Regions from separate parts of the Homo sapiens genome. Here regions 1, 2, 3, 4 and 5 are each linked to region 6. Evidence: promoter capture Hi-C in 16 types of primary human blood cells and fetal thymus (Javierre and others, 2016). All regions are on one chromosome and are shown on one strand. Each heading gives the region's core, a stretch centred on a gene start or on the middle of the fragment in contact. The rest is flanking DNA. Distances are from core to core; before and after follow the strand shown.

Region 1 (3,510 bases), core at 462-2,961, 120 kb after region 6:
TATGGTACTTAAATGGGTAAACCAAAGTGTAAAAAGAAATACATAAAAGGAATACATGATACTGGCTTAAGTTTTAAAAGTAAAATTTACCCAAACAGACAATCATATACAAATCAACCATAATGTCACTATTATTACTGGGATGGGAAAGATCAGTTGTCCCTATAATTCACTCCTCACTACACAGAAAACCACTAAATAAGGCTTTTCAAAGCTATACTTATAAAGCAAAATAACCTACTAACAGCAAAATGAAAGAAACCATGAGTACTGCTCACACTTCTTATGTAAAGTCTACTTTTTTAAAACTTATATTCTATGAACATTTTTCAATTATTTCAGAGGATTCAAAAAAACCATCTGAAGAAAGCTCATCTTTATTTTGTATAGTAATGCAATGGGTTTCTTCTTCATTTGTTCCTATCACAGTACATAAAAAACTAGTTTACTGCCTGTGTACAGTCTTTCCTCTAAAGTGAGCACAAGTACATTATTTTCATTTCTACAGCTTAGTAGTATTTTAAAATCTTAAAAATTTGTCTTCTATAAATATACTACTTACTCTGTAGAGGCTGGTAGGATGCTGATGGGAGATATATGGGTGCTGCAATCAAAGAAAGAAATTAGCTATAAAAATGTTCAATACTTAATAACTACAAAATGTGCTGAAATCTGCCATATTTGCACTACCTTGACACAACCAGGAGAGCACATACTAAGTGTTGTATTCTTGTTTACATATCAAGTTGGAAATATTTTCTGAATCTGGTTGGTAAAGCTTTCAAATATTAACCAAAGAAAATAAATTTGGAAAAACGTATCACTAACAAGACCAAAAATTTTAAAGTTAGAATTCATTATGAGCTAGGACCATTACATGCATTTATCTCTCATTTAATAACTTTCAATACCCAAGGAGTTACAATTATTTCCCCCTTTCCACAAAAGTGAAGCTCAAAGATGTTAATTAACTTGGCCAAATGCATATGGCCATGGGTTGGGTACCCCAAAGCCCCTGCTATTAACAAAGATGCTCTACTGCCTTCTACAACAAAAAAAAGTGACTAAAAACAAAAACACACACCACAGCATGAGCACCTCTCACAGATGATGAACCTAATTTTCTAAAGAAACTATTTTTCACACAAAAAGACCCCCAAATATATATACTTGTGGGGGTGAGAGTGGGACAACTACTTTCTCTGGTGCTCAGGTGGAGAAAAACTGATCTATTTCCAAAGCTGGAGGGAAAATTAGTTGTACTGGATTTAGGTGAACAGTAGTATTAGCCATTGATGAATACAGGTAATTTTTAAAAAATCATTTATCAGATAAAAGATAAGGTATGTTTAAATGGCACTGTGTGCCTAAGCACATCATCACAGCCAACACTTAGCCATAGGGAGGAGTGACCCTGCCTTCTTGACCTGAACACCACATCTGTAGCTACCTTGTCATTTTTTAAACGTAAATTAGTTTTATGAAGATCCTCCAAAATGTGGCAATACAATCTCTAACCAAAATGCAGAACAAACGCTATGAAGTTAGTATTGTCAGGATCCACTGCAGGAAACCAAATGAGTATCATTTACCATTCATTCACTCAGCAATCTTCATGTCTCTCAGTAGCGAAGTGAACAAATGCTTTATCAAACAACAGTAAGCCCTCTTGGTCTGACACACATAACCCCTCCTACATATAAAAATATTTTTTGTTAACTGCCAGTATCATGCTAGTTTCCAATGAATGGATTATTTATGGTTCTAAAGGCCTTCATGCTGATCGTCTCCAGGGAAGTGTTTACCAATATTCACACTTAAAGATTTTTCTGACTAGGTGTAGTGGTTCATGCCTGTAATCCCAGCACTTTGGGAGACCGAAGCTGGAGGTTCACTTGAAACCAGGAATTCAAGACCAGCCTGGGCAACATAGCGAGATCCCATCTCTACAAAAAAAATAAAAATCAGCCAGGCATGATGATGGTGCATGCCTGTAGTCCTAGCTACTTAGGAGGCTGAGGCAGGAAGATCGCTTGAGCCCAGGGAGGTTGCAGTGAGCTGTGGTCGTGCCACTGCACTCCTGCCTGGGTGACAGAAAGACACCCTGTCTCAAAAAAAAGAAAGAAAAATAAAACAACTAAAGTTTTTTGGAACTTCATTTCTGAAATCCAAAAAAGCTGGGGGGAAAAAACCCCAAAACATGGTACAAAGAAGAGTGTAGCCATCATCAGTTTATTTCTAGCGGTTTCCTGTGAGCTAAAAGTTAAATATTTATTGATTTCTGTAGAAAAAAAACAAAAAGTAAAAAGATAAATGAGGCTTTCCCTGAAGAGTCTTAACATGAACTAGGATATTAAATCATTTTCTGATATTTTGCTCTAATACACTATTGCTTACATATTTACATTTCGGTGATCAGCTGCTATTAAATTACAAAAGTTAAATCTTTATGTGGTGCGATCTGTTTTATTTTCCTTGATAATATTTGCAATCTCTACTAAACTTAGATAATTCCTTGCCTATCGAGAAATATTCATTTTATTTTTAATATCTAATTATAATCCACTGACAATGTGGCATACTGAATGGTGTGGGGAAAAATCTATAAATTGAACACTCTTAGCCATTTAATTTGTGATCTCTGGTAAGCTTTTGCTTTATCTTATACCAAATCCTGAAGAAGCTCTCTAATTCTCAACTACTTACTTCATCAGTCTGTTACTAAAGCTTTATATAATGTTTTAATTCTTGGTAGGGCTTATATCCTCTCTGTTCTTTCTCAGATTTGCCCTTGTTAGTCATCTGCTCATTTTCCCAGAGGAATTTTCTCACCCTTTTTTGTCAGATTAGATTATCAATAAAATGTTAGTAGGTAAATGGATACAAGATATTTCATAAAGAATTAAATAACCAAAAAGAAAAATAATCAACCTAACTAGATATACAAGTTTAAAATAAGGAGCCAGGTGCCAGTGGCTCATGCCTCAAGTCCCAGCTACTCAGGAGGCTGAGTCAGGAGGATCACTTGAGCCCAGGAGTTTGAGGCCACCCTGGGCAACATAGCGAGACCCCCATCTCAAAAAAAATAAACAAATAAGGATTAAAATAAAATTTATATATATTTCTGCTGATGTCAATATAGTATATTGACAAAGGCTATGAAACTGGCATGCATGTTGCTAGTGGGAAGGTTAATGAGTAAAAATTTCTTATGGAAATCTATTTAGTAATGCATTTCAAAGAGCTCTAAAAATGTGCACACACTTTGACTCAGAAAGTCTGAGACTCTATCAAAAAGGGTTTATCAAATCTACCACAATTTATCCTAGATACAAAAGGGGAGGATGGATTTTATACCATAAAGTATTCTCTGTAGCATTTTTCCAATATTATAAAACTTCTCAAAAATACAGAAAAGTGAAAATAAACTGTATAAGAACACCTATAGCCCCAACATTTAAAGTCTATAATTAACATTTTACTATATTTGCAGAATTATTTTTAAGAAAG
Region 2 (3,816 bases), core at 1,015-3,514, 68 kb before region 6:
CCCTTCTGTTAATTGTCCATACATACTAACAGATACTAATCTATTTTCTTGGTGATTCATATATATGCTTCATAAAGAAAAATACTGTCTTTTGCATCATATTTCTTATAATTATTTCCATTTTTGTGTCTTAACTTATATATTGATTTTTTTCAAGAAAGTTTAAAAATTTTTAAATAGGCATCTCAACTTTTCCCCTTGTATTTTATTTTGAGTTTAAGCTTATTCATTTATTCATTCATTCAACAAATATTCACCAAAGACTTGCTATGTGCCAGAAACTATGCAGGAACACTAAAGATACAGCAGTAAATAAGACGTATTTTTAGCCTTCAAAGAGTTTCCATTTGGCCAGGCAAGATGGCTCATACACCTGTAATGCCAGTGCCTCAGGAGGCCAATTCGGGAGGACTGCTTGAGACCAAGAGTTTGAGACCAGCCTGGCCAACATGGCAAGAACCTCCCTCCACAAATAAAAATTTAAAAATGAAATAGGCAAGGTGGTGCATGCCAGTAGTCCCAGCTACTCAGGAGGCTGAGGCAGGAGGATCACTTGACCCCAAAAGTGCAGTGGCGTGATCTTGGCTCACTGCAACCTCCGCCTCCCGAGTTCAAGCAATTCTCCTGCCTCAGCCTCCTGAGTAGCTGGGAGTATAGGCACATACCACTATACCTGGTTAATTTTTGTATTTTTTGTAGAGATGAAGTTTTACCATGTTGGCCAGGTTGGTCTCAAACTTGGGACCTCAGGTGATCCGCCCTCCTCAGCCTCCCAAAGTGCTGGGATTACAGGTGTGAGCCACCTATTTTCTGTATTTTCTTATATTGTCTACTAATATTTTTTTGAGTCTGTTTTCTCAAATTCTTTCACCTGGGATTTATTCTAGTGTATAGTACGAAACTAAATTAATATTTTTTCTAAGCAGCTAGTTAACTATTCCAGCAACAGTTACTTAATAATTCTTTCCTTCCCTAGAAATCCTTACTGCTGGCTGGGAACGGTGGCTCACGCCTGTAATCCCAGCATTTTGGGAGGCAGAAGTGGGCAGATCACTTGAGGCCAGGAGTTCGAGACCAGCCTGGGCAGCATGGAAAAACCCCATCTCTACAAAAAATACAAAAATTAGCTGGGTGTGGTGGCACATATCTGTAGTCCCAGCTACTCAGGAGGCTGAGGCAGGAGAACTGCTTGAACCCAGGAGGCAGAGGTTGCAGTGAGCTGAGATCACACCACTGCACTCCAGCCTCAGTGACAGAGTGAGACCCCATCTCAAAAAAAAAAAAAAAGCAATCCTTACTGCTTTCACTGTCATATATTAACACGTTATATATACCAGGGTCTATTTCTGTCTATTCCATTCCTTGATCTGTCTGCTAATTCTTGGCCCAGCATTACGTTGATTTAATTATTCACACTTTATAATATTTTAAAATATTTGGTGTTGTTAATCATGCTTTTCATTTTAATTATTCCATTTTTCAAAGCTATTTTCACTTACAAATACTTTATAAGTAATTTTTTATAACCTCTCTTGGGATTTTCATTGAAATTGAATTATATCTACAATTTAACTTGGGAAGAAACAAAATCTTTATAATATTCGGTCTTTCCATCCAAACATTCCTTTTTCCCATTTAATCTTTCTTGAAGGCATTAATGTATTTCCTGGTGATTCTGGAGAAAACAGAAGTATTAATCAGTAGGCTTCCCTTTATATATATACCTTAATTCCTAAGCACACCCAACCTTGATGACAAAGAAGTGTCTTTGAAAAGGAAAAAAAATAAATGGACATTGTGTGTTAGCTCCTCATCGTTTGTTTACATCAGATTATAATAGCTCTCTATGTGTACCTAGGTGAGCAAAAATGTTAACAACAGTGGACCCCTCACCTCAGAACACAGATTTACACCAAACATCCCCTTAAAAGTTTTTTTAAAAATGACTCTGGTTTTGTCATTTCTCAATTTCCCACACTCATTACAGACTTCCTTTAGAATAATAAACAATAAACTCTGTTATTAACTCAAATTTTATGTTTCTACTAAGCGAAATTCTAAACAACAGCAACAGTAATAACTACTATCTATTGAATATCTACTATGTTCTATCATTAATCTTCAAAATAATCCTGCAGGATAGGTGGCTATATTCACCTTATAGGAAAGGAATCAAAAGCTTAGAGAGCAGAGGAGCAAATCCTTCCCTGCTCCGCGTTCAGCCACCCCAGCGATGCTTTATGCTTGTTTTTATTATTTGTAACACTTTGGGAAGTTATTAAAGGAAGATCTATTGCTTCCTCCTTTTGGGGTAGAACTGGATGGCAAAAAATAAAATAAAATAAAAATAAAAGCTTAGAGAGAAGCTCAAGATCACCCAGCTAGGTAATGCTGGAGAATCCAAATTCAGACCTAGCTCTCTCCCACTCAAGCTGACTCTCAAAATCATCATGATCACAGATAACTAAAATGATCTCTTAATATCCACCAAACCTGTGGCACCACTAGCTTTTGCCAATACTCTATATATGGAAAAGGTACTTTCCAATAGCCCTACAATCTTCCAAAGTTTGCTACTCTCTGTATTTTAAATACAAACAGGTAAATAAGTAATGGGACATTGCTAAAAGTTGACTGGGGAAAGAAATACAAGCCACTGAACTGCTTTGATAGTATCTGCTCTTCAGGTTCTTACAGAGGAGGAGATTGGCTTCACGTCCATAGTACACATCCCACTCCTACTCTACCTGCAAGTCCCCCCAGCCAGTGACCCAGCAGGATTCTATAAAACACAGACACACAATGTCAATGTTGTTGACTGCCTGGAAATTTTGAGTTTCTTTAGGGTAGTTTGATGTATTTGGGTAGGGAAACAGGATTGAATCACACAGCCTGGCCCTAAAATGTAGGGTTCTATCACTGAGTCCTTGGCTTAGGAAATGTAGTATTTGAAAATGTTGTGTGCTCATCCACTAGACCATGCCACAAATATTTTCAACCATACTCAATCTTCTACAACCTTGTTTTCTAAAGTCTTCAAACACTCACTATAAGGAAATATTTCTTATATTTAATATAAATCTTACTTTTTGAGTCTTTTATAAATGAGAAGTAGGCCCCTTCTTGTAATAATTTTTCAAATACAGGAAAAGCGCTTTTTAGTCCCCACTTTCATCTATAGTCTATAAGCAGCTCAGCTGTTGTCAGCTCCAAAGTAGTTGATAAAAATCTTATATTTATAATACATACTTGCTCAGAAACTTGGCATTAATTTCAATTTCAAAAGTATCTTCATTAATCTTATAAATTACTGCAAAATCTGGAATAGCACCATCTCTTTTTTTAAACTTTTAAGTTCAGGGGTGCAAGTGCAGGTTTGTTACATAGGTAAACTGGTGTCATGGGCGTTTTTTGTACAGATTATTTCATCACCCAGATATTAAGCCTAGTACCCATTAGTTATTTTTCCTGATCCTGTCCCTCCTCCTACCCACTACCCTCTGAAAGGCCCCAGTGTGTGCTGCTGCCCTCTATGTGTCCATCTCTTAACTAACAGTAAATGCTCTAAGAACAACCATTAATGTTTACTAATAATTTTCCAGGAATATTTAAGTTAAATGTCTGATTTTGGCCGTGCTAATTTAAAAAAAAAATATATATATATATATATACATATATATATGCCAGAAAATGCCACAGATTTTCAAGAGGCACTCTTATTATCATCTCTACAAGATGACTGAAAGTGACATTTTGAAAATATCTTTTAAACAGCTCCACCTCATGTCACTGCTGCTGAGATTTCTGACTCCTCCC
Region 3 (3,513 bases), core at 409-2,908, 85 kb before region 6:
AGAATCACTTGTATCTTCCAAACCTGCAAGTACTGAATTTCTGTGCTCTCTTAATTTCCTTTCAAATTAAATAATTAAATTCCTTTTCTACTTGCAAATAAGCCAATTCTTTTTTGAGCTCATCTCTTTATTGCTGTAAATTACCAAATGAAGCCAATAGTAACTAATTCACCCTACAAGCATTCAGTTTTTCCCAAAAATCTTCCCAAAAGGAAAACTATAGGCCCAGACTCTACCAGCAAGTTCTATGAACATTCAAGGGAGAAATGAGACCAATAATACAAACCCTTTCAGAAAACAGAAAAAGGGAGTATTTTCTCTAACTCGTTCGATGATGCTATCATAACTCTGATATCAAAATCCACTAAGGAGGCCCGGTGTGGTGGCTCACACCAGTAATCCCAGCACTTTGGGAGTCACTTGGGGCCAGGGTTCGAGATCAGCCTGGCCAACATGGCGAGACCCTGTCTCTACTAAAAATACAAAAATTAGCCAGGCATGGTAAGGCACACCTGTAATCCCAGCTACTCACGAGGCTGAGGCAGGAGAATAACTTGAATTCAGAAGGCAGAGGTTGCAGTAAGCCGAGATCACACCACTGCACTCCAGCCTGGGTGACAGAGCAAGACTCCATCTCAAAAAAAAAAAAAAAAAACTCCACTAAGGACAGTAAGAAAAAGGGAACTTACAGGTAAGCTGACTAAAAATCATAAATGCAAATTTCCTAAACAAAATATTAGCACACAGAAAATAGCAATATAGAAAAAGGATAAAAAGGGATAATATTTAAAAAGGATAAAACATGGGTTTGTCTAAATAATACAAAGTTGATTTAGGAGAAGAAAATCAATTAATACTGTTACCTACAATAACAGAATAGAAGAAGAAACATGAACAACCTAATAATGATTGAAAGTGTATTTGATAAAAACAAATATTCAATATTTTTTAAAGACTCTTAATGAACTGGGAAAAAAAAGATAATTTTCTTAGTCTGAAACACTATAAATAAATATTCATGCACAATGCCTGACAACAGGAACTATCACAAAAGACTCTGAAAAAACCACAACCTTGCACAAAGGCCATCAAAATCTTATACAAACAAAAATACTTCTGTGAGGACATTAAGTGTAATATTTACTACAAGTACAGTGAGATGTTTAAAGCTTTGCCTTTAAATAATGCCTGTTAACACCACTTTTATTTAACAGTGTACTAGAGGGCCTAGCCAGCCTAGTAAGGCAAGTATATGAAAAAAAAACAAAACAAGAATAGGAATTGGAAAGAGAAACAAAACTATCATTATTTGTAGATGATAGGATCACGAATGTGAAAAATTTAAGAGTATCTAAGGATAAATTACTAAATTACTGAGACATTTTAGCAAGATGACACAAATTTGCAAAATCAGTTGTATTTCTACACATTAGAATCAAAAAATAAAAAAACTCAAAAATACCAACTATGCTAGCATAACATACATGAAGTACCCAAGAACTGTGAAAGTTGTCAGAATCAAATGAAGTCACATGTGTTAAAGCCTCTGTCAAGAGCCAGGGAAGCCCATGAAAAGAGGGTTCTCACGCACAGTGCCTGATAACAAGAACTATTACAAAAGACCCTGAAAAAAACCACAACTTTGCACAAAGGCCATCACAAACTTATACACAAAAAAATACTTTTGTGAGGACATCTGCCCAGCAACTGCCTGTGCAACCTTTGACTAGTACCACTCTTGTTATTGATCCTTGTAGCCAAGAACAATTGTCTCAGGCAGCTCAGCAAGGCCACTGTGGCCCGACTGCCAGATTTCTCCTCTCTGAGCAGGGCATCTCTGAAAAAAAGGCAGCATCCCAAGTCAGGGACTTATAGATAAAACCAGCGTCTCCCTGGGACAGAGCACCTGGGGGAAGAGGTGGCTGTGGGCGCAGCCTCAGCAAACTTAAACATCCCTGCCTGATGGCTCTGAAGAGAGCAGCAGACCTCCCAGCACAGCGTTCGAGCTCTGCTAAGGGTCAGACTGCCTCCTCAAGTGGGTCCCTGACACCCGTGTATCCTGACTGGGAGATACCTCCCAGTAGGAGCTGACAGACACCTCATACAGGAGAGCTCTGGCTGGCAACTGGCAGGTGCCCCTCTGGGACGAAGCTTCCAGAGGAAAGAACAGGCAGCAATCTTTGCTGTTCTGCAGCCTCTGCTGGTGATAGCCAGGCAAACAAGGTCTGGAGTGGACTTCCAGCAAACTCTAGCAGAACTGCAACAGAGGGGCCTGACTGTTAGAAGAAAAATTAACAAACGGAAAGGAAGAGCACGTCCACTCAGAGACCCCATCCAAAGGTCACCAACATCAAAGACCAAAGTTAGATAAATCCACAAAGATGGGGAAAAAACAGCACAAAAAGGCTGAAAATTCCAAAAACCAGAACAACTCTTTTCCTCCAAAGGATCACAACTCCTCACCAGCAAGGGAAGAAAACTGGACAGAGAAAAGAGTTCGACGAATTCACAGAAGTAGGCTTCAGAAAGTGGGTAATAACAAACTCCTCTGAGCTAAAGGAGCATGTTCTAACCCAGTGCAAGGAAGCTAAGAACCTTGAAAAAAGGTTAGAGGAATTGCTAACTAGAATAAACAGCTTAGAGAAGAACATAAATTACCTGACGTAGCTGAAAAACACAGCCCGAGAACTTCGTGAAGCCTACACAAGTATCAACAGCCCAATCAATCAAGGAAGAAAGGATATCGGAGATTAAAGATCAACTTAATGAAATAAAGTGAGAAGACAAGATTAGAGAAAAAAGAATAAAAAGGAACAAACAAAGCCTCCAAGAAACATGGGACTACGTGAAAAGACCAAATCTACATTTGATTGGTGTACCTGAAAGTGACAGGGAGAATGGAACCAAGTTGGAAAACACTCTGCAGGATATTATCCAGGAGAATTTCCCCAACCTAGCAAGATAGGCCAGCATTCAAATTCAGGAAATAGAGAGAATACCACAAAGATACTCCTCGAGAAGAGCAACCCCAAGACACATAATCATCAGATTCACCAAGGTTGAAATGAAGGAAAAAATGTTAAGGGCAGCCAGAGAGAAAGGTCGGTTTACCCACAAAGGGAAGCCCATCAGACTAACAGCGGATCTCTCTACAGAAACCCTATAAGCCGGAAGAGAGTGGAGGCCAATATTCAACATTCTTGAAGAAAAGAAATTTCAACCCAGAATTTCATATTCAGCCAAACTAAGCTTTGTAAGCAAAGGAGAAATGAAATCCTTTACAGACAAGCAAATGCTGAGAGATTTTGTCACCACCAGGCCTGCCTTACAAGAGCTCCTGAAGGAAGCACTAAACACGGAAAGGAACAACTGGTACCAGCCACTGCAAAAACATACCAAATCGTAAAGACCATCAACACTATGAAGAAACTGCATCAACTAACGGGCAAAATAACCAGCTAGCATGATAATGACCAGATCAAATTTACACATAACAATATTAACCTTAAATGT
Region 4 (3,457 bases), core at 205-2,704, 94 kb after region 6:
ATTAAGTTGCTGTTTAACTGTAAAATATTTGGTAAGAGTATTTATATTTAAATCTTTAAACCTAGCTAACCCACATTAAAGACCAGACATAACAGTTTAAACCTAGGCAAGTTTTTAAAGACTAAGACAAAAAAATAGTTCTTACCAGAATCAAGTGTGACAATTTATCACTGTCAAATAACAAATATTCTTCCCTAAAAATACAAGTAAAGTTGTTAGTATATTAAGAATAAAAAGGCTACTATCATTATATATTTCTTACCTAGATTCCTCTACTCCATAACACAGTTAGCATTTACAATGTGCGAGGAGAAAATGCCAACTGGACACATGCCCATTCTTTGGAGCCCTATATCTGAAAAATCACACAATACTGAAAAGATCCACAGAATCACTTCGGGTTTAGAAAAATCAAGTAACAATCCCTACTCCACCCCACAAACCACAGCAAAAAAGAAAAACCTTTATAAAATGAAAACTAAAATCCACAGTAAGTAGAAACCCAAAAGAATGAATGTATAATAAAGATTTTATAAAATAAATGTTTTAACCAAATAAACAGCTCTATTCTCTCCATTCTTGAGACTTTCAAAGAAAACTTTTTAAAAAGGTATCACTATGTCTTTTACTTTAAACTTGACTGTATTCTATCACAAGGATACTACTTCCAATCAGAGAAGGTTACTACTTCCAAACCTTTCCCTCCTCAAAATATAACAGTAACATACTAAAAGGAAATTTTAAAAAATTTCAGTCCACCTTTTACTTCCCCAGAAAAACTAACCCTTATTTAGAACAAGTGTTATAGCAAGCTGTCGTAAGTGATCTGTACCTATTTTACCAGTCAAGAGAGCACCTGCTATTATACAGTAGATTATCAATATGCCTACTGGGGGAAAGTTCTTTTCCCCAAAGACACAGTGGCAATTTACAATGACACATCGAGATGTCACTTCTAACCGGCCATAACAGAGTATGCACTCAGGAGACATGCCTTGATCTAAATATTGCAAGTCATCTTCTCATACAGATAATTACCTTATTCTTGCTGAGAATAAGAAATGAACTAAATGCTCTGTTAAGCTTAAAGGCATTCCTTTGCTTAGAGTAGGAGCAAATGGTAGGATGAGTAATTACTACCTTAGCAGCCTAAAAGACCTAATCACCTACATTTGAGAAGCATGAATGTTAAACATACAAAATGTAATCCACCTAACCAAGGTACTCTGGATCTAAAAACCAGTTTGCTAACTTATACACAGTTGAAGTTGAAGAGGAGAGAGCTTTTTCCAAAAACAACAACAACAACAACAACAACAACAACAACAGAAGAGTCCTCACTAAATGGGTCCTTATTGTTCTACCAAATCCAGATGTCACTATTCTGGGGGTGCCTGTTAATGTTGTTAATTTTATATCTTCAGCCCATAGCTCCAATACTTCCTGGGCTGGAAGAGGATGATTCCTGCCTCCTGAAAGGAAGGACAAGGAACTGCTATAAGGAAATCTGTGGACCTTCAGAGTATGGGGAGGCTCCAGAGACGTGGCTCCAAAGAATTTGCTTACCCTTAAAGAACAGGCTTCCTACTTATAATTAAAAGAAACAATAGAATACAAATATGTCCTGGCCAACAGGCTGTCAGCAAATTAGTATACTGTCTGGGATCTCTCAATATTTACAATCTAGCCTGCAACTTCATTACTGAAGTGTTTTCAGAATCTCAAATCACCTTCCTAAGAAAGTTATACTTTTTGGCAGCATCTTGAAGACTGATGCAAAGGGTAACAAGAACCCAAATCTTACTCTGTGATTTAAAACATTCTAGAAAGCTTCTATTCAAAGAGGCTATCTATTGAGACTCTACATTAGTCGAAATACTCATTGCCTCCAGTATTTCTCTACCATTACAGCCAGCCAAAGAGGTTAAAAAAGCACCAGCTGCCTAAGAGTGTACTGAGACACACCAAGGATAAATTCAAAGAGGAAGAAAAACATCCTATACATATTTGTTGAATCAAATACAGTATCTCTCAGTTAGTTATACACAGTTACAAGATCATGAATTAACTCACTGACAGGTATACTCAGAATATCAGTAAATTCCCAATTGTTCCACAATCAACTGAAAGATTTAAATGTCTCCAAAAAGGCTGTTTTTCCCTCTGAATGTTTTCCAAGTTATAACTACTGTCTGAACCTGTACAAATCCAAACATTTATGGGTATTTAATATCCTTTATGCCTACCATTATAACAAGAAGGCTGTTTAAGATTATCTAAACTATATATTTATAATGGACATTCATCTAAAAAAATCACCTCAAAAATCTGTGAAGAGCTCCAATTCTCAAAATGATTAATTAGCAACAAGAAAAAATGCTTACCTCTCAAGACAGCCATCTTCACTATCACCACGGTCACTGCATGGCTCTAACAATATACCTACAGACTGACAAAAAGAACACTACCATGTATTAATGGAGCTCCCAATACTCAGATAAGAGAAGTTGCCAATCTAAATTAGGATATTAGAATACAGATTAGTCAAACACCCCTAATTAGCTATCATTTATAATAGTCTGTAGTACTTAGCATCTCTTTTTACAGAGAGTAATTTATCTTCCCTCAAAACCTGGGTCATATGAAGTATAGCAGGTACTCTGCATTTCTCTCTATTAGGTAATATGTATCACCACTACCATCCTTCTTCCTTAGAATTATCTCCTCCAAAATGATGGTCTTCTGATCCTGCTTGCCAACTGCTGCTTGCTTTATTTCTCCTCAGCTACAAAGATACAAGTTTGGTGACTTCTTGTAGGTAAGATAGGAGTCATAGAGGAGTTCACTAGATTCCTTTGTATATTTGAAGTAATAACTATTTTCCACAAAGAAAGTCCCCACATGAGAAAACTCTCCCATTTTCCAACGAGCTTAGTGACACCATCTCATCCCTATTCCCCCCCAAACTAAAAACCTACCAAGTCTAATACAAATACCCAGAGAATTACTACAAAATACATGAACGTTGTGGTGTTTTTGATGATCACCTTTCAAATCAACAAAAGGTTCCATACTTCCTAGACTCTCTGATTCTTCTTTAGAAAGTAAGTACCACTTGTCCAGCTTTGTTTAGCGTGAAAGAAGGTCCACAAGAATCTGCAAAAAAAGCTGTTAAAATACTAGTCCCTTTTCAAACTACACATCTGTGAGGCTGTCTCATATGCTTCAACAAAACAATGTAACAGCAACAGACTTAAATGCAGAAGCATATACAAGAATCCAGCTGTCTTCTGTAAGTCAAACAGGTATCAACAATATTTCTAGCTATGTAAAACAATGCCACTCCTCAAACTTAAAAAATTTTATGAAAACAGTTATCTATTGTGGAAAAGAGCAACCTTACTTATGTTACCATAAATGAGTTTGTTAAATTAATGTTTTTTAAATTTACCAGTTT
Region 5 (3,628 bases), core at 694-3,193, 110 kb before region 6:
TACACATCTCACAGAGTTGCGCAAACAGACATTGAGTTAAGGGCATGCACTTTAATGTCATTGATAATTTTAATCACATCCTGTAAAACCTTAAGTTCGGGTGACAATTTTCGGCTACCCGGCATTTCTCTGTAGATGACACAGTGCATAGACTCACATTCAGAAGTGACCTCTTTGACCTGAGTAGTGAAACCAGAAAGCCATCCAGTCATATCAGCCACTCTGTCTGTGCATATACTGACACAAAATGACCAATTCCGTTTTTCTGATATGTAATCAAAGTCTTGAATAGTTCTGCACCTGTGGTGTTGGTTGGCAACAAAAGTGCACATAACATATTCCCCTGCACATCCTCCTGAAAAAGATATGGCACAAAAACAAGCATTGTTGTCTTGTCAACATCAGTAGACTCATTAACCTGGATTGCATACCATGGTGACTCATTAATCCTAACAATTGTGCCCCAATATCCTCTGTATTTCATCACTTTGTCTAGTTATGGTACTAGCCGAAAAAGGAACATGTGTCACCTTTTGAACTTCAGCCTCTCCTAAAAGTTCATGATAAATGTCCTTAGCAGCAGGCAGGAACAATTCTTCACCAACGGTAAAGGGCTTCTTAGCTTTAGCAATGCAGTTAGCCACTAAGAATGATGCTCTCAGTGCAGATACATTTGATGAAGTGGTGGCCTTCAATAATTGCTTCTGGTTTTTTGTTTGCTTGTTTTTGAGACAGGGTCTTTCTCTTTCACCCAGGCTGGAGTGCAGTGGTGCAATCTTGGCTCACTGCAACCTCTGCCTCCTGGGTTCAAGTGATTCTCATGCCTCAGCCTCCCGAGTAGCTGGGACTACAGGTGCGTACCACCACACCCAGCTAATTTTTGTATTTTCAGTAGAGACGGAGTTTCACCATATTGACCAGGCTGGTCTCAAACTCTTGGCCTCAAGCAATCCACCCACCTCAGCCTCCCAAAGTGCTGGGATTACAGGTGTGAGCCACCATGCCTGGCCAGTTGCTTCTGTTCTTTGTGTTCATTTGAAAAACTCAAAAGCCTTGTGTTTTAATGCAAGGTGCTAGGTTTCCATGTGGAGAAGCAGTTTTGAAGGTTTCATGGCTTTGTTGGATAGCCGGTTGCCACATGTTATACAAAGTGGGCTTGTAGAATGTTAATCACTTGTTGCAATGAGCCTGTAATTTAAGTAGGACTCTTGGTATTTTCTTTTAAATGCAGCTTTGTTTTTGATGGAAGTCTTAATGTCTTCTGATGTCTCATCATTCAGTCTGTCCCCCTTGACAAAGAAGCTCTCCAGTGACATTTGTTTTTTACTCATTTTGGCTAGGGTTAGCTTGTGGGCTTACCAAAACTATGACTGAGACAAGTGCATAGCATGGGAAAGAGGCACGGATGGAAGTGGTAAATAAAATAATGGGCAGGCCATGCTCAGACTAAAGTTAAGTGTCAGATTCTGACAGCCTGCCACCAGATGTAGCTGTACAATTGAAGTACATCAATTCACTTGCCACTATAAAGCCTACTGCCAGCCACGGCTTAATTGTCACTTGCCACTCACTGATAGGGTTTTGATATGAGTCTGCGACTTATTATGGTCTCTGTGCAGTCAGACCTCCCTGCTAATGTTAATCTGTATTTGCAGCCACTCCCCCACATTAGCATTACCACCTCAGCTCCACCTCAGATCATCAGGCATTAGATTCTCATAAGAAGTGCACAACCTAGATACCTCACATGTTCAGTTCACAATAGGGTTCATGCCCTATGAGAATCTAATCCCGCTGCTGCTGTGACAGTAGACGGAGCTCAGGTGGTAATGTGAGCCATGGGGAGCAGCTGTAAATACAAATGAAGCTTCACTCGCTCACCCACCGCTCACCTCCTGCTGTGCAGCCCAGTTCCTAACAGGCCATAGACTGATACCAGTCCATGGCCCAGGAGGTGGGAACCCCTGATCTATGCCACCTAAATGGGGATCCATTAGGGTTTTCATTTCTATTGGCTAATAAAGCTTCACAGAGGTAAATGTCAGGTCTAGACACCTTACATACAGTAGGGTATAGGGATGATCAGAGACAATACAAGAATGTTGTAGAGACATTAAGAAAGCCAGGATATATGCAGTATGACTGGAATGTTAAGTTTTTTTGTGTTTGTTTGTTTTTTTGAGACAAGAGTCTGACGCCCAGGCTGGAATGCAGTGGTGCAATCTCAGCTCAGTGCAATCTCCGCCTCCAGGGTTCAAGCGATTCTCCTGCCTCAGCCTCCTGAGTAGCTGGAATTACAGGCATGTGCCACCACTCTCAGCTAATTTTTGTATATTTATTAGAGACAGAGTTTCACCGTGTTGACCAGGCTGGTCTTGAACTCCTGACCTCAGGTGATCCATCTGCCTCTGGCTCCCAAAGTACTGGGATTACAGGCATGAGTCACCACACCAGGCCAGAATGTTAGATTCTTTTTGGAGATTAGATCAGTAAAGGTAGGGACAGTCAATAAAAGGAGTATTATGTAAACACTTAAATGATGCAGTCAATTTCCTACTCTACGTCATTAAGGAGGAAAAACTATTTTTTTCTACTTTGCCTTTTAGATCACTGCCTGAGTTTACTTTGTTTCTTTAACTCGCTTACAGGTGTCTAAGCCTTCCAAAATAAAACACTTAAAAATAAAACTGAAATTTAGACTGCCTTTGGCTTCCATCCCTCCTGCAAGCTTGATTACAAAAAGCTAATGGAATGTGATGGTTACACAAGTCATAGAACCACACACTAAAAAGAGTGTGTTTTAATATTAAATTATACGTAGACAGAGAAAGAATGAACTGAGAAAGAAAGGAAAGACTATGGCCAGCTATATTTCCAGAAAGCAGCAACTGTGATTTTTTAAAATTAGCTTTTTATTGGATCCATGTTTGTTTTACAGTTAGGATTCTGCTATGGACTAAATTGTGCACCCCTGGTCCCCACGCTCAAATTCATATATTCAAGCCATAACTCCCAGTACCTCCAAATGTAACCATAATTGAAGATAAGGTTTCGAAAGAGGTGATTACATTAAAATGATGTCATTAGGGTGGGGCCCTACTTCAATATGTCTGGTGTCATAAGAAAGACAACAGGAGCACAAGTGCATAAAGGGACGACCATCTGCAAGCCAAGGAGGAGAGGCCTCAGAAGAACCCCAGACTGCCAGCACTTCATCTTTGACCTCCAGCCTCCAGAACTAGGAGAAAATAAATTTCTATTGTTTAAGCCACTCATTCTGTAATATTTTGTTATGGCAGCACTAGCAAACTAGTACAGGTTCCATTTTTATTTATTCAAGGTGAACATTTCAAAAGGGCATTCTTTGCCACTTGTGGTGAAAGTATATTTTTTCTAGTGGACCCTAACAACTCATATCAAAAGCTTTTAAATTTGGCCCATTCTTTTGAACCAGCAATTACACTTCCAGAAATTTATCACAGCGAAATAATTCAGGACCTATACAAGGATTTAGCTATAAAGATATTTATTTTAATTTGTTTATACTAGAAAAAAAGTTGGAAATGACCTAATTGTCCCAAAATAGCTGTCTAATAAATAGAGAATCAATTAAGTGCTCCAGGTAAGA
Region 6 (3,818 bases), core at 899-3,398:
AAAAGGCAGGAACAAACAGATTTACAGTAGATTATTAATATAGCCCCTGACTACTGAGAATGGTATCATAAAAGAGGACCTACTTACCTTTCCTAAATCATCCCTTGATCCCATTATAGCAAAAACTTTAGCCTTGACGTACCATGAAGGCTATCACATGTAACACACGGTAACCTGGGTTGTATCTTACAAAGACCTAGAGAAGAGGCAAAGCTTGAAAGACAAAGAGTAAGCAGAACTAAATTCTTCCTCGAGTGTAGTATGCTTAGAACCTGCTGTAGGCAAAATTGGGAATTTAGCAGGTTGTCCTGGATGTCTTCCCTACTTGGCTGGTGAGGTATACCTCAAACTTTTAGTGCAGAGAGACCTCAAATCTATTATTTCCTTTTCCATGCCCTAATCAAACCCTGTTCTCCAGCAGAACCAAATGTCAGTCACATATACCACATTTAAAATTGCTTAGAATAGATAGGCTGGGCATGTGGTTTATGCCTATAATTCCAGTGCTTTGAGAAGCCGACGTGGAGGATCGCTTGAGGCAAGGAGTTTGAGACCAGCTTGGGCAACATAGCGAAACTCTGTCTGTCCAAAAAATTTTAAAATTAGCTGGGTATAGTGCTGCATGCCTATAGCCCTAGCTACTTGAAAGTCTGCAGAGGAAGGATCTCTTGAGCCCAGGAGTTTGAGGCTGCAGTGAGTTCTGATCATATCACTGCACTCCAGCCTGGGTGACAGAGTAAGACCCTGTCTCTAAAAAAAAACTAATAATAAAATAAAATGCTTGAAGGAGTGTCTTACTCATAATAAATGCTATATATTGGCTATTATTACTTTTATCCTATCACTTGCATTTGTATTTTAAGTCTCTCTAATTTAGATGGAAAGGTTTTGTCTGTATTACTGGAATTTGAAATATCAGTGAACAGATGTTGAAGAATATTTTGGGAGACTCCTGAAATAAGACTTTGTAGGCAACCACCTACTCACCAAGTCTAGCATGCTTTTTCTACTAAGGGCTGCACGCCCAGGCAGAAATTATCAAGCTTTCTTTGAACACCAAAGAAAGGTACACCTACTTGGCCAGCTGTGAAGGATTTTATATGGCTCATATGTGCTCAAACATCTATTTGCTGGATTCTAATATACATGTTAATTCAATCAAGATTGGGGTATCTACCCATGAGGGAGGGGAACTGAAGCCACCCCATGGAGATAATTCTACTCCCTTGGCCCAATCCTCATGCCACCTACCCTACTTCACCACATTTGCTGATTCGACATTTTATTCTTCTGCAATTATTTACTTCCCTGCACAAAAATGGAAATCTAAATACCATGATGGTCTCTGTGACAAAAAGTGAAAGGAAACTAACTGTTAGGAATAAAGGGAGATGAACATGCATTGACAGCTCTAATTATATAGATTGCTTATTTGTTTGGTTGTTTCTTAAGTGTTTCAAAACTCTTTCAGAATAAAAGTACTAGGCAAAAGGGGCATATGCCATACAGATTCAGAAAACTTGCTCAAGAAACACCATCATGTTTTTCCACCTCCCTACCTTCCCAGTGACATGTCACTATGACCTCGGTCTCCTGCTTTGCCCAGACTGCCCTCCACCTCGGAACAAACTGCTAGTACTGAGAGACCTCAAATCTATTATTGAATCCTACTCTCATTAGGCAAAAGAAAAAAGACTTCAGATGAAGAATTATGCAATACAAATCAATTGGGAGCCCATCTATCACTGGTCTTATTCCTGGAGAAGTCTTAGTATAATAGATAGAAGAACTCCACTCTTGAAATATTATTTTCCCTTTAGTCCTCTCTCTTAAACTGGGAAAATTCAAAGTCCCCACCATAATAAAGAAATAAGAGGGTTTTTTTTCTATTTTTCCCATTTCCCTATTCACTGCCCTTCCCTCACATGAGCTTGCTAAAGTTCATAGTCAAAATTCACGTCTGAAATAAAGAGGCTTGCAAAAGAAGCTCATGTAATCCCACTCCTTAAATACCACTAAGACACGTGAGATATTGTTTAGATTGTGGACTCTTACTTTGACATGCCAGCATAGGTAGATGGACAGGCAAGCACATCAGATGTCACTGTTTGGCAGCTGATAAAAGTCAGTGGTGCTATAATACTAAGCACAGAGCCACTAGATTAGTCTGTGAGGGAAGGAGATGCCTCTTCCTTCCCTTCAATAGTGGGTTAAACCCAGCTGGCACCCTCTGGAACTACGGGTAAGTCCCTTCTTTATTCCTACTACACTTTTAGGTCTTGTTTTTGTTTTTTGTCCAAATCAGATGAGTGTATACAAAGATGATTTTCAGATAAAAAGTTTGAAAGCCACAACATTATAATGGTATTACACAAAAATTTAAAGAGAAAGCGACTCATTCATTTCATTGAGACTGGAAGGCATTATACAAATGATAGAAGGAAAGATAGCTGTGTGTCATTATTTTTAAATCACCATTTTTCCTTGAAAAGGGACACTTGATCTGATGTAATTGTGGTGATGTCTTATGAACGCAACATATCCTCTATCAGTCTTCTGTGCAAGTCTATGCTATATTAGAGACAGGAAAAAAATGTTAAGATTTTTTAAAAAGGAGACTGAATAGTACTTTATTTATAAAAATCTTTGAAATTCATTTAACATTATTTGGAATAAAATGACCCTGTCATATAACAGAATCTATTATAGAATTAAATTGTTGAACAGTAACTACAAACATAAAGAAAATACAGGATCACCTGCGTAAATGTCTGCATAAAATTTTGACACATGGATAAAATGAAACTTATGAAATAACATATTTTTAATTGGGCTTTTAAAAATATCACTAATTATTAACAATGTAGGCCAATATCAACATGTACAAGACAGTTGCCATTCTGAAAATATATGTAAAGAAAAAAAGAGAACTGTTTCTGGAAAATATCTACTATTTCATAAGCGGTTTATTCCTTGCTATCTGAAATGAGTCTCAATAATGTACCTGCCCAGAAAGAAATTTAGGAATCAAACTCTGGATTCAATTCTGCAACAGACTGAATAAACCGATAACTACAAAACTACTTGCCTTGAAATAGACTTTTTTTTTAGATCTACTCAAGGCCCTCCTTCAGGATGTTTTTCCCCAACAATTTAAATGCCTAAAGTAGTTCATTTCTAAAATGCATTCTAGTTTAATGTATTTGTGTTCATAAACTTGAAATTAAGGAATATTTAACTTTTTAAGTATTCTTTCTCAATAGCGTCTTTCTCTTGGCTGTTTAGTTGCATTTCTGTTTTTTCCTAAAATTGCTAGTTTTAATTTAACTCTAAACTACATAGGCAACTTTGAAATACTATTTTTTGAAGGTATCCTATTATTTAGGATGAAACTCTTTGGTCTGGAAAAGTTTTATTAACATTTTATCCAAGACAGTAACTAAAATAATTAGAAGACTTCGTTTCAATGATGACAAACAATTTGGTTAATTTTTCAGTTAAAAGTTTGATTTGTCATTATCTCAGTATTGGCTTATACCAGATGAAACAAAATAGGCAAATGTATTTTGAATCAATTTATCTGATATTTTCAATGAAAACAGGATTAGTGTGAAAACAATTTATAGGACTAGTCTTTGTGTGTAATGTCTATATATAGTCCCGCTTAGGTTTACCATACTAATGGAAAAAAAATCAGAGACAAATATAATCCTTCAAGGTTGATTTTCATGGCAAATGTTTCATCTGAGAAAAAATGAGGATGTACTGTAGGAAGGCAGGAGGCCCACTACAGAGCTAAGTAGGAGGAATGGCACCTG

What was found. The method cuts DNA at HindIII sites, captures the fragments that hold promoters and counts their contacts. A CHiCAGO score of 5 or more calls a contact.
Region 1: a fragment that was not itself captured here is called in contact with the fragment with the promoter of MYOT in region 6 in 2 of 17 cell types (total B cells and naive B cells); the score reaches 5.8 in total B cells.
Region 2: a contact is called between a fragment that was not itself captured here and the fragment with the promoter of MYOT in region 6, in 1 of 17 cell types (M1 macrophages). The highest score is 5.5, in M1 macrophages.
Region 3: a fragment that was not itself captured here is called in contact with the fragment with the promoter of MYOT in region 6 in 1 of 17 cell types (M2 macrophages); the score reaches 5.3 in M2 macrophages.
Region 4: a fragment that was not itself captured here is called in contact with the fragment with the promoter of MYOT in region 6 in 1 of 17 cell types (total B cells); the score reaches 5.1 in total B cells.
Region 5: a fragment that was not itself captured here is called in contact with the fragment with the promoter of MYOT in region 6 in 1 of 17 cell types (M1 macrophages); the score reaches 5.6 in M1 macrophages.

Annotation. Positions count from the first base shown.
Region 1 is chr5:137,987,712-137,991,221 of GRCh38, forward strand. FAM13B (family with sequence similarity 13 member B) reads right to left here. Exons shown (of 24, transcript NM_001385994.1): 8 at 563-604. Among named protein-coding and RNA genes, the nearest start is that of FAM13B-AS1, 43 kb to the right of the region's middle. The HindIII fragment of the contact is 1,871 bases long and covers 777-2,647 here.
Region 2 is chr5:137,797,365-137,801,180 of GRCh38, forward strand. No RefSeq gene overlaps it. Among named protein-coding and RNA genes, the nearest start is that of HNRNPA0, 45 kb to the left of the region's middle. The HindIII fragment of the contact is 175 bases long and covers 2,178-2,352 here.
Region 3 is chr5:137,781,593-137,785,105 of GRCh38, forward strand. No RefSeq gene overlaps it. Among named protein-coding and RNA genes, the nearest start is that of HNRNPA0, 29 kb to the left of the region's middle. The HindIII fragment of the contact is 982 bases long and covers 1,168-2,149 here.
Region 4 is chr5:137,960,021-137,963,477 of GRCh38, forward strand. It overlaps FAM13B (family with sequence similarity 13 member B), which reads right to left. Exons shown (of 24, transcript NM_001385994.1): 11 at 2,385-2,449; 12 at 146-194. Among named protein-coding and RNA genes, the nearest start is that of FAM13B-AS1, 71 kb to the right of the region's middle. The HindIII fragment of the contact is 747 bases long and covers 1,082-1,828 here.
Region 5 is chr5:137,758,666-137,762,293 of GRCh38, forward strand. No RefSeq gene overlaps it. Among named protein-coding and RNA genes, the nearest start is that of HNRNPA0, 6.1 kb to the left of the region's middle. RefSeq lists an enhancer at 1-14. The HindIII fragment of the contact is 157 bases long and covers 1,866-2,022 here.
Region 6 is chr5:137,865,712-137,869,529 of GRCh38, forward strand. It overlaps MYOT (myotilin), which reads left to right and starts at 2,149. Exons shown (of 10, transcript NM_006790.3): 1 at 2,149-2,242. The region is part of intron 2 of PKD2L2-DT (PKD2L2 divergent transcript); the gene reads right to left. The HindIII fragment of the contact is 5,979 bases long and covers 1,042-3,818 here.